Regions from separate parts of the Homo sapiens genome. Here all the other regions are linked to region 1. Evidence: promoter capture Hi-C in 16 types of primary human blood cells and fetal thymus (Javierre and others, 2016). All regions are on one chromosome and are shown on one strand. The core of a region is centred on a gene start or on the middle of the fragment in contact, and the rest is flanking DNA. Distances in the headings are between cores, read along the strand shown. Region 1 holds the start of CLDN23 (claudin 23). Region 2 overlaps LOC124901866. Region 3 overlaps ERI1 (exoribonuclease 1).

Region 1 (3,859 bases), core at 798-3,297:
TGAGGCGTCCAAAGGGTGGAATAGTACAGCATTAGGACCTTTGTTCTCCTCTTGGCTTCTGGAAGAGAAACTCTTGCATGCCCTCGACTTTCACCGCAAAAATAAGTGAGAAAAAAGATAAATCCCATTTATGCAATGATATGTAGCTATGAGTTAATCACGGTATTTCATTCCATGAAATCCATTAAGCTGCTGGCATTTGCATGGCTCTAAGTTTATTTTAAGAGGCTCATTCAAACATGGCCAGGAATATATTGGCCTCTTGAGAGTTTGCATGGCAAGGAGTTATACAGCAGGAAAAAGAAAAAAAACCCAATAATTATATTGATGCAAGATTCATCAGTATTTTAGAATATTGTCGTTTCAACATGTTAAATTGTTTCTGAGCACTGCTGATTTCAGCACTGTCCCTGGTCCACGTGACGCAAATGCCACCCTTTCCATATATTCTTCAGCAAAAATATATGAAAAGCCCGTCACTCCCTAAGAGGACCCTGATCCCTCTGGAGAGGAAAACTAAACTCTTTAAGAAGAAAACCAAACCCAACCTGAACTAATCGTCCAAGGAGTCCTGTTTGGTCCCACGAAAGGCAGATTTCCATCCACACCAGTGAGGGGCAAGTGTCCGGGTTCCAACTCGAAGCCAGGCGGGCCTGTGCGGGGGTGAGTCCTTTGCCACCCGGCGCCCCCCAGGCTCTACAAGCGTCTAGAGGTCGGAGTCGCAGGGCAGCGAGCTGTCGCAGGGGTGGGTGCTGCACGAGGGAGCGTCCTGGGACTCCCACCCCTCCCCGTCGAGGACGTCCACCGAGTTGGTGTAGGCCTTGGGCCGCGGCCGCGGCATGGGGAAGCCGACCTTGGGCTTGGGCTTGGGCTTGCGGTGCTGGGCAGGCGGCGGTCGGTGCTGGCCGTCGCTGTAGTACTTGATGGCGGGCGCCAGGTCGGGCTCGGGCCACTCCACTTGGATGGTGCTGACGCTGCTGCGGCGAGGCCCGGCGGAGGGTCCCTTGCGGCGGCGGCGACAACGCTCGTCGCACCAGGGCGCGAAGCTGAGCGCCAGCGAGAAGCCGCCCAGCAGCAGGAGGCAGCTGCCCAGGTAGCCCAGGACCAGGCTGTAGCTGACCTGCACCGTGACCGGGCTGGCCGGGGCGGGCAGCACGTCGCGGTCCCCCAAGAAGTGGTTGTACCAGGACACCGGGATGAGGCCGAGGAGGCCAGCGACGAAGAGCACGACGCCCGAGAGCCCTGCCAGCACGAAGTTGGGCTCGTCCTGCCAGCAGCGCACGCCCAGCGACGCCAGCAGAAGCCCCAGGACCGTGGCGGCCAGCGAGGTGACCATGAGTGCCCGCGCCACCAGCACGGGCTGGGCCTCGAAGTAGCCCCACTGGTCCGTCTGGCCGCACTCGCGCTCGCGGCTGCTCTGCTCGCGACACATGTCCCACAGGCCCTGGTACAACTCCACGTCCACTGGCTGGTTCAGGAAGCCCTTCACCAGCCGCCAGCCGGGCGCCAGGGTGCCGGTCAGGTTGAGCAGGAGCCCGCAGGGCGCCAACACCATGCCCAGCGTCATCACCACCGGCGTCCGCATCCCGGCCCGCCGCGCCGACGGCGCCCCTGCAGCCTGCCTTCCTTCTCCGCTGTCGCCTTCTCCGCCGTCGTCTTCTCCCTGCCGTGCCCCAGGCTCCGGGGACCCGAAGTCAGCGCGGACGCCCCGGGCTCCGGGTCGGGCTCCTGAGCCCTGATCGCTCCAGGGACGCTCTTTGTCTCCTGCACGGGGACCGTCCCCACTTAGGCTAGTTCCCTCCTGGCGTCCCGGCCGCTCCGCCCTCCTACTGGCCCTAATCGAAACCAGCCCGCGGGCGGGTCTGACCGAAACCGCGGGTCCGGGCGCGGGCGCCCAGGGGCGGCTGCCGCGGCCAAACCTGGCCCGGGAGGGAGGGACCCGAGGTGAGCGCAGGAAGCGGCGGGGCCACCTCGCCCGCGGCAGGTGAGATGGGGATCCGAGCGGCGGGGACACCCCACCTTGCAGCCGGGCGGCTGGGCCACGCCTGGCCTGGACTGCTCACGGCCGGAGCAAAGGTCGCCCCGCCCCTGGGTCCTCGCGCCGCCCCGCCGGGCCAGGCGGGCGGTGGGCGGGGAGGGAAAGAGGCGGCGCTGGCGGGACGCGGTGGCTGCGCAGCTTCCCTGCTGCTCAGCGGATCTCGGTTCCTAGAATTTGTTTCCGGTCCCTGCCCGTCGACCCTGCGCTTATAGCTTAGCCCTTTACTCCCAGAGGGTTCCAGATCGCCCCCTGGTTTGCTCTGCAACTTGCAGCCACTCGCAGAGAAGTGGGCGGTGCCGAGCGCTCCCGGGGATTGGAGGTGCGCTGGGTGAGTGTGCAGAAGCCCACCCAGTCCAGGAGCGTGTCCCAGAACGTTGCACCGGATTATTTCCTTAATAAAGGCTCCACACTCTGGATTAAATTCGTCTCTAAAGAATCTGTGCCAGTGTACTTCTGGGCAGAAGGGTTACACAAGGATTTTACTTTCCTTTTTCAGCCTTGTGAGACTTTCAAGGGGACTAGAAAGAGGGACCAGTGTTCCCGGATGTCCTGCTTAGCGTTTTTTGCAGGTTTATTTAATTTTACAGTGTACTGTGGCCTTTCTCGTCTGTAGGTTATTTTACAACTCTATAAATTATAGAAAGCCTGTAGTATTGCAAATGACTTTTGCCAACATCAAGGCTAATGAGTTCGTCCCAGTGGAATGATTATTGTCCAATGGATACTGACCAGTATGGCATTGATTTGTAAATTCATTTTAGCATTCCTGTTTGTCTGTATATGTGTGTCCTTTTGTTCTTTGCTTTTTTTTTTTCCTTTTTCTTTTATTTATTTATTTATTTATTTATTTATTTATTTATTTTAAACAGGGTTGGGGAGTTTCGCTGTGTTGCCCAGGCTGGTTGCAAACTCCTGGGCTCAGGTGAGTCTCCCGCCTCAGCCTCTGGAGTAGCTAGGACTGCAGGCAAGTGGCCAGCTTCTTTGGTTTTAACATCATACTGGTTTCCTTATTCAATAATGAGTTAAATAACCTCTTTCACACATATTCATTTTATATTTGTGTGAAAGTCACGATGTTTACATTTTTTCTAAAAATTATCCTTTAATAACACTTTTTTGTATTTTCTAGATTTTTACAATGAAAACGTATTGCCTTTATAATTGTTTAAAATTAAAACTATTTTTAAAATTCAAGTTAATTTAGCATTGGTTTGAAATAATTTTGAATATTCCAGAGTGGACAACACTAGGAATGACAGTGACTGCTTTTTTTAAAAGAATATTTTTAAATTAAAAAAAAAACCTGTGGTAACATATATGTAACATACAGTTGACCGTTGTAACCATCTTTAAGTGTACAGCTCATTGGTATGACATACATTCACATTGTTGTGATACCCTCACCACCATCCACTCCTGGGATTTTTTCCTCTTCCCAAACTGACACTGTACCCACTAAACACTAACTCTCCTTTCCTCCCTCCCTCACAGGCCCTGGTGATCACCATTCTACTTTTTTCTCTCTATAAATTTAACTACTTTAGGTACCTCATAGAACTGGAATCGGACCGTATTTGTCCTTTCGTGACTGGCTTATTTCACTGAGCTTAATGTCCTCCAGGTTCATCCATATTGTAGCATGTGTCAGAATGTCCTTCCTTTTGAAGGTTGAATGATATTCTATTGTGCATAAATACCACATTTTGTTTATCCAGTCTTCCATCCATAGACACTTAGATTGCTTTTACCTTTTGGCTATTGTGAATAATGCTGTTGCATCATTTATGTAATAGTGATATATACATCACTTTTAATTTTTTT
Region 2 (4,125 bases), core at 1-2,500, 280 kb before region 1:
CCGAGGAACTCCATAATAATGTAGATTCCTGGGGTCCTTATTTCAGGATTTGACTTTATAGATCTGGGTAGCCTCAGAATCTTCATTTGTACCTCACATTGCAGGGATTCTGAGTAGGTATTAAGAATAACCATATTTTAATGGAAATAGGACAAGATTAAACTGCTAAGTTTCAGTCTTAGTGACAAAACCACTGATATTAAGAAAAGAAAGGGAAATTTCAAGAATATTTAAATTCTGTAATCAGAAGAAGCACTGTGCATCTAAAACATGATGATATTTTCAACTTACGATGGATGTGTGAGGTCATAACCCCACAGTAAGTTGAGGAGTATCTGTACCTTATCAAATGCCAGCACACAGGCTGGAGCATTCATTACCCATTCCTGTCTGAATCAACTATCATTATGGTACTCCTTAAACAATGACTTTAACTTTTTTTTTTTGACACAGAGTCTCACTTTGTTGTCCAGGCTGGAGTGCAATGGCACAATCTCGGCTCACTGCAACCTCCACCTCCCGGGTCCAAGTGATTCTCCTGTCTCAGCCTCCAGAGTAGCAGGATTACAGGCACCTGCCACCAAGCCCAGTTAATTTTTGTATTTTTAGTAGAGATGGGGTTTCACCATGTTGGCCAGGCTGGTCTCAAACTCCTGAGCTCAGGTGATCCACCTGCCTCAGCCTCCCAAAATGCTGGTATTAGAAGCGTGAGCCACCACGCCCAGCCTTAAATGATGATTTTTTCTATTTCCATAATTCCTTCTGTAGTTGACATTCTACTACAAAGAGATGCTTTCCTGTTTAATTTACATATATATATATATATATGTCAGTATGGACTCATGGCTTCCTATTTTATTTGAGGAAATGTAATCCATTTCTATCATTTTTTTAGGGGAGGGGGATGACACAGATTAACCTAGATTTGGCCAAGGGAGTTTCTTCAAGCTGCTTCCTATGTCCTTTTGACATGTTCCCATTATTTTTTTTTTTAGCATTTTCTTACATTCTTGTGCAACAAACTGTTTCAAGCTCATTCTGTCTTTCCCTTGTCCTGGCCCAGGAATTTGCCAGTTCTCTAAGGAGTCCTGGGTCTTTTATTGAAAAATTTTTTTTTTTTTTGAGGTGGAGTCTCACTCTGTCACCCGGGTTGGAGTGCAGTGGCACAATCTTGGCTCACTGCAACCTCAGCCTCCTGGATTCAAGCGATTCTCCTGCCTGTGCCTCCCCAGTAGCTGGGATTACAGGTGTGTGCCACCACTCCTGGCTAATTTTTTAAAAAATTTTTAATAGAGTCAGGGTTTTGCCATGTTGGGTTGGCCAGTCTGGTCTTGAACTCCCGACTTCAAATGATCCACCCGCCTCGGCCTCCCAAAGTGCTGGGATTTCAGGCGTGAGCCACTGCGCCTGGCCTAGTGAAGAATATACTCATTGCTACAGTAGGGTCATTGCTTCTGAGACCTCTCATTAACGGAGATGGAAGACACACACATACACATACTCTATATAAATATTTCCATCTTTATGTATCTTTGCCTATATAAATATGAGTTCACACTGATATCATCAGTTTCAACCCCACACCTCAAGGTTTTTCTCAGCCTTTTATATTTGTAATCTCTTCCTCCACAGTAAAATATCTGCCTTTAATTTTTCCCAATGTAGTTATTTACTTGCATATTTCAATATTCCTATCATTTTATCTCAGTCTCCACGGTCTCTGCTGTCTCCTTGCACAGCCATCTTATTTCCGTTTAAATCTCTGCAGGATCTATGACTTGTTATGTTTATTGAGAGGAAATAACCTTCTCAAAATAATCCAGAGGATGCTCACCTGCTAAAAATTTAGCTCTCCACTGGGAGTGGTAGATGTAATGCCTGTAATCCCAGCCTTTGGGAGGCTCATGCCTGTAATCCCAGCACTTTGGGAGGCCAAGGCAGGTGGATCACTTGAGGCCACGAGTTCGAGACCAGCCTGGCCAATATGATGAAACCCCACCTCTACTAAAAAATTACAAAATTTATCCAGGTGTGGTGGCATACTACAGTAATCCCAGCTACTTGGGAGGCTGAGACATGAGAATCACTTTAGCCCGTGATAAGGAGGTTGCAGTGAGCCAAGATCATGCCCCTGCACTCCAGCCTGGGGGACAGAGTGAGACTGTCTCAAAAAAAAAAAAAAAATAAATAAATAAAAACTTAGCTCTCATTTAACCTCCTAGAGATGTGACTTTCAGCTACAAAATGTGTGATCACACTATTATAAAACATTGAATTAATTTTTCATTCTACAAAATATGTTCATTGAAAAAAATTGGAATTTGTTTACTGACATAAATGAACTCACCAGACTTGTGTTCAGCAATTGTTCATTACATGATTATGTAGAATATTTTATTAGTCAGAAAACACCGGGCTCTCTGGTGTTTTGCTTTCTCTTTCAGCCTGCTCAGTGTAAAATGTATTTTTAGCAGATCCAAACACAAACACAATAGGAAAACTGGTTATATGATACACTTATTAAGTGCTTTCATGATAAAGAAATAATATTATTGCAATTTTAACACCCGTTTGCTGATCAGATCCTTAAAACAGTTCTGTGAGGGTGTGAACGGTGAGGGACGCCTGTAATCCTAGCACTTTGGGGGCCAAGGTGCAAGGATTGCTTGAGGCCAGGAGTTCAAGACCAGTAAGGGCAGCATAGCAAGACCCCATCTCTACAAAAAATTAAACAATTAGTCAAGTGTGGTGGCAGCACCTGTAGTCCCAGCTAACCAGGAGGCTGAGGTGGGAGGATCCCTTTAGCCCAGGAAGTTGAAGCTGCAGTGAGCTATGATCGCACCACTGCACTCCAGCATGTGTGACAAAGCAAGTCCCTGTCTCTAAAAACAGCATACAAAACAAAAACAGTTCTGTGAGTTGTCACGGCAGTTAGGTACTGTGGATCCCACTTTATGGAATAAGAAAGTGAGGCTGCAAGGAATCCGTGACTATCAGTCCAGGCTTTTAAGAGCTGGGAATTGACTGGTCCAATTAGAACTACATTCCCTATTCCAATTCCATCAAACTTTTCAACTTTCAATAGAAAAGACAGTGCAAAGAAAGAGGCTGAATTTATACAACAACAACAAAAATTATGTCTCTCCCAGTCCATGAAAATATTTCAGGTTTAAAAAGCAATAAGCTGGCCAGGTGCCATGGCTCACACCTGTAATCCCAACACTTTGGGAAACCGAGACAGCTGGATCATTTGAGGTTAGGAGTTCCAGACTAGTCTGGCCAATATGGCAAAACCACATCTCTACTAAAAATACAAAAGTTAGCCAGGCATGGTGGTGCGTGCCTGTAGTCTCAGCTACTCAGGAGGCTGAGGCAGAAGGATTGATTGAGCCTGGGAGGTGGAGGTTGCAGTTAGCGGAGATCGTGCCACTGCATTCCAGCCTGGGTGACAGAGTGAAACTGTCTTGAAAAATAAAGTAAAATAAAATAAGCCTTTTTCTGTAAAAAGTCAGCCCTGGAGGAATGGTTCCAAGCGTGTGGACAGCACCACTCAGTTTCCCTACTATACCTGTGGAAGGAAATGATAGTTGCTGTATTTCTAAATAGGTTGACTATTAACATTGCTGCATTCTCCTTCCCAAGAAACACCATGGCCTGATACACTCACTGCGGCCCCATGTGGGGCAAAATTGCTGCCATCCATATCTTTTTTTTTTTTTTTTTTGAGACAGTATCTCACTCTGTCACCCAGGCTGGAGTGCAGTGGTGCAATCACAGCTCACCGCAGCCTCAATTTCCTGGGCTCAAGCGATCCTCCTACCTCAGGCTCTGGAGTAGCTGGGCATGAGCCACCACATCTGGCTGGTTTTTGCTTTGTTCTATTTTTGTTTGTTTTGTAGAGACGGGGGTCTCTCTATGTTGCTCAGGCTGGTCTCGAACTCCTGGCCTTAAACAATCCACCTGCCTCGACCTCACTAAGTGCTGGGATTACAAGCGTGAGCTATTGTGCCCAGCCTTGCCACCCATATCTTTGCTTCCTGTGGCTGAGTTTCAAAGCATCATGAACCTGAAATAAGAGGTCACAAGTTCACTGCTCGGCTTAAGCTGAATGGCAGCTAATCCATT
Region 3 (4,163 bases), core at 1,106-3,605, 310 kb before region 1:
AACCTATCATTTCACTATCATTGTCACATGTTCCTGAGGTATACTGTGTACTGCAGACAAAATATACTATAAGCCATGGCCTCAACCAGCCAGATGGCTCACGTCTATAATCTCAGCACTTTGGGAGGGGGGTGAATCACTTGAGCTGGAGCTCGAGACCAGCCTGGGCAACATGGAGAAACCCTATCTTCACTAAAAATACAAAAATTAGCCAGGCATGGTGGTGCATGCCTGTAATCCGAGCTACTCAGGAGGCTGAGGCACGAGAATCGCTTGAATCCAGGAGTCGGAGGTTGCAGTGAGCCGAGATCACACCACTGCACTCCAGCCTGGCGACAGAGCAAGACTCTGTCTCAAAAAAATAAAAAATAAAAGGCATGTTCTCAATACACTTTTATGTCCTATAACTTTGGTTGCACAACAGGTGAAGAAAAGGCAAGATCATGTTGCAGAAACCATACAAACTGGAATTAGAAAAGTTTCTGTTATTTTTTTGCCTGAAATACCCTCCCCCTCCCTTTTCTGTTTGGCACAATTCAAATGTCATCTTTCTGAATTCCTGAGAAATATTCTCCTCTGTATTCTCATGCTGTACCTGGCCAGACCTCCAATATAGCATTGGCCACTCTGTATTGTGATGATTTCTTTGTATGTTTTCCCAAAAGACTGAGATTGCCAAAGTGGGGAACATATCTGTATTTACCTTTATAACTTCAATGCCTAGTGCAGTACTTAGAATTCAATACAGGCTTGTTGAATAAACGTATAAACATACATCTAGATCGCTAGCTCCCACGCAAGCCAGGAGTAAGCAACTGATCTTCACACCTGGGAAGGACAAAAATTTTGCTCGGAAAATCTTCTGTAGGCTACAAGTTGTACCTTCATAACAGAAAGAATCGGGGAAATAGGAGTCAAAAATTTCTTCATACATTATGATGTAGACAATCTAGAAATTAATAAATTTGTGCTCTTTTGAAGAGTGGTGAAACTCTAAAGAGGAAGAATACTACTATTAAGAGAATTATGATTCAGAGATGTCTTGAAAAAGGAAGAGTTTTTACCTATTTCATACAGGCAATTTTTTTTCTTGATGCCTGGCAGTTCTACCGTTTATCAAAAATCGATGTATTTTTCTGGACTCCAAAAGCCATTTCTGCCCCATGGCCCAATGAACGTAAAGTGATTTGTTTCGCAAAAAATTACTAAAAACTTAGGTATGTGTATATCTCATTAAAATACACATACAGTTGACTAAGTTGCATTGTTTTCTCACTCAATATACAGTGAAACATAATGCAAACGATCATTGTAGATTATTTTTTAGAAATTAAAACAAAAAATATTCCTGTTAAGTGAATGTTTTTAATTTATTGTACCTGATTTCAAACAAACTCTTTTTATAAAAGATACAAATGGCAAAAAGAAAATAAAAAATACTCTATCTCACTAATATAACTATCCATCATTTAAATGAGCAACTAAAAAAATTTAAAACACTCTTGTCATAATAAGACAGAGACTCCTATACATTGCCGGTAGGTCATTAAAATATTTGACTTTGATTCAGCAGTCCTATCATCTAGAAGACAGACAAAAATAATCAGAGTTGCACATAAAAAATGTTAATTAGTTTTTGTGAACTGTTAATAGGATCATGTCATTACGGTAGGATTACAGATGATTTTTAATATTTCAATGTTTTCAAGATTTTCTAAAATGAGCATGTACTACTTTTATAATTTTATAAGTTATTTTTAATTACCTAGTTTCAAGCTTGAATTCTGAAAGCTTAGCTCTGAGTTCTTCCTTACTCATTCTATTAATACAGCCATTCGTAATGGCAATCTCTTTGTAAACCGGGTCACTGAAGTCACTCGCACTGGAGGTAATGAACTTGGATCCTTTTGTCTCCTGGCCATCAAATTTACACTGTTGAGTTTCCTACCAAAAAAAAAAAAAAAAAAAAAAAAAAAAAGGATGTAGTTTATAATTAGTACAAACATCACAGATTTAAAGATTCAAACTTTCAAACTTCTGAAGCCTCTTCATGCTACATGTTCAATGAAAAGTGTTCACTGCAGCTCCTAAACGGAGGAAAGGATAAGAAGGAAGATGCGTCTCCAATACAATTTACCCCACTCTATTATGAGTCATGAGGTTCCTCAAAGGAAACAAAGCTAAGTAAAAAGAAGACTGGTGGTGGGAGTCAACACCACCTCAATAGAGAACCCCAGCTGACTATTTACTAGAAATAGCAGCATGACTTTGGATAGCTACGTATTAGCCTCTGATCCTCAATTTCCTTATCTATAAAATGGTAATTTGGTAATGGTAAATAGTGTTTGGGCAGAATTATTACAAAGATTAAATGAGATTATGTGTATCAGACCCCTACACCCACAGTAGCTATTAATAAATGGTAACTATTAATATCACAGGCTATACAACAAGCCCTTCACAAACAATATGCTAATATTTACAAATGAACCCATTTTTAAATGAACTTTTACATTATACATGTGTAATAACTTCTGATAATTTTTTAACCTGACTTCATTTCACAAAGTTAACAAAAATTGCCCAACATAAAAACAAAATGGACCGCAAATCTAATTTACAGCTTCCTAGTACTCAAAGAAGGAAATGTATTTAATTTCAAAACTTACATTTTCCAAAAGTTGTACTTAGGTCCACTAACCAGAAGAACTATAGAATTATGAATTTTTTCATAAATAAAAATCTGTTAAGAAAAAACATGACTCAATTCTATTTTCTCCACAGGCAGTCTCAAATTACTAATATGTTAAGTTCCAAAGATTCATTTGTAAGTTATTTTCCACATGCAATATCACAAATATTAGCTATGTTCCATAATTTTGAAAAATATTTAGTACTAATTATCCCTATTAAAGCTTGTTACCTTAGTTATAATGTACCACATTGTCCTCACGTAAACTGTAATTATAGATCAAGGAAGGATAATCACAGAGAGGCCACAGTCCCTAACTCAGAACTGATCCTGATGGTTCAGGAACCATTTCTTACTCTAAGCTCTCAATTTAATGCAACACACATTTACTGGAAATGTAATGCTAGGTAAGGTGCCAGAGTACTCAAGAGTGACTCACCCATTTCCTTTGAGGAAGAGGTCAGCAGTTCCAATGTGTGAACTGTCCATAAATTAAAGAACAGCCACACTGAGGTTCCTTGTTAACAATGTTAAGGAAAAAAAAAGTATTGCTAGTTGACCAATGATTCACTTTCAACAATATATTAGATTTACAATAGATATTGCTCTGCTTGACCAGAATTTTACAAAAAATTATCTTTTGACTTTAAATTTACATTGAATTTGAAACTTCATCTTTAGTCATCATTTAGTAAATTTCAGGTTAAAATTTAGGTCAACATTAAGTAACAGTTTGTCTACCAAAACAGATGTCTCAGTTAATTTAAGCAGATTTTCTCTTTGGATAAATCCTCTTTCTGATTCACTGGTTAATTCTCATCCTAAACTGTAGCTAGAAAAATTATTCACAAGTAACACTTAGGCCTCTTCTATAGATGCTATAAATTATGACTTCCATAAAGAAAAATTTGCTTCCTTTCCTAGGTCCAGCTCTAGTTCTCTTCCTTCAGTGAAGTTCTAGAGACAGCCGAGGTCCAATCCTCAGAAAGCAGTGTCTCCTCCCAAATTTCAAATCTACACTAATGGTTCACAAAGAAGGATGCTCAAATCAATCTGCCAAGGAGCAGAAAGAAAATACTAAAAACCCTACTTGTATTGTTAATCTGCAGAAAGACAAAATTAGTTTACGAAATACATACTTACATTTGCATCAGCATCCGTACCAGTAACTACATCCACCTATCACATGTCACATATAATACGGACCATATAATGAGAAAAGTGATAGATTCCACAATATGGAGAGAAACATTCACCATCACAGAACTGTAACATTTTGCAATATTCACGTATTCAATTAAGTGGATGTATGGTTTATATTATCTCAAATAAGAGAAGCTTTTACATTATGGGATGTGGCCATGAAAATCTTCTATACCAAACAGAGGTTTACTATCTTGTGGCAAACTACTTTAAAACTGTCGTTGAGGCCGGGCGCGTTGGCTCACGCCTGTAATCCCAGCACTTTGGG

The links. Contacts are between HindIII fragments. The CHiCAGO score rates a contact against its expected background, and 5 or more counts as called.
Region 2: a fragment that was not itself captured here is called in contact with the fragment with the promoter of CLDN23 in region 1 in 5 of 17 cell types (total B cells, naive B cells, M1 macrophages and 2 more); the score reaches 8.4 in total B cells.
Region 3: a contact is called between a fragment that was not itself captured here and the fragment with the promoter of CLDN23 in region 1, in 8 of 17 cell types (naive B cells, total B cells, M1 macrophages and 5 more). The highest score is 7.9, in naive B cells.

Annotation. Positions count from the first base shown.
Region 1 is chr8:8,700,125-8,703,983 of GRCh38, reverse strand. CLDN23 (claudin 23) reads right to left here and starts at 2,047. Exons shown (of 1, transcript NM_194284.3): 1 at 1-2,047. The coding sequence starts at 1,585. The coding sequence ends at 707. RefSeq lists an enhancer at 1,254-2,221 and a silencer at 1,695-2,314. The HindIII fragment of the contact is 12,864 bases long and covers 1-3,859 here.
Region 2 is chr8:8,981,903-8,986,027 of GRCh38, reverse strand. All of the region lies in intron 3 of LOC124901866, which reads right to left. Among named protein-coding and RNA genes, the nearest start is that of ERI1, 19 kb to the left of the region's middle. The HindIII fragment of the contact is 9,598 bases long and covers 1-4,125 here.
Region 3 is chr8:9,005,751-9,009,913 of GRCh38, reverse strand. ERI1 (exoribonuclease 1) reads right to left here. Exons shown (of 7, transcript NM_153332.4): 2 at 1,766-1,944. Among named protein-coding and RNA genes, the nearest start is that of ERI1, 4.9 kb to the right of the region's middle. The HindIII fragment of the contact is 1,124 bases long and covers 1,794-2,917 here.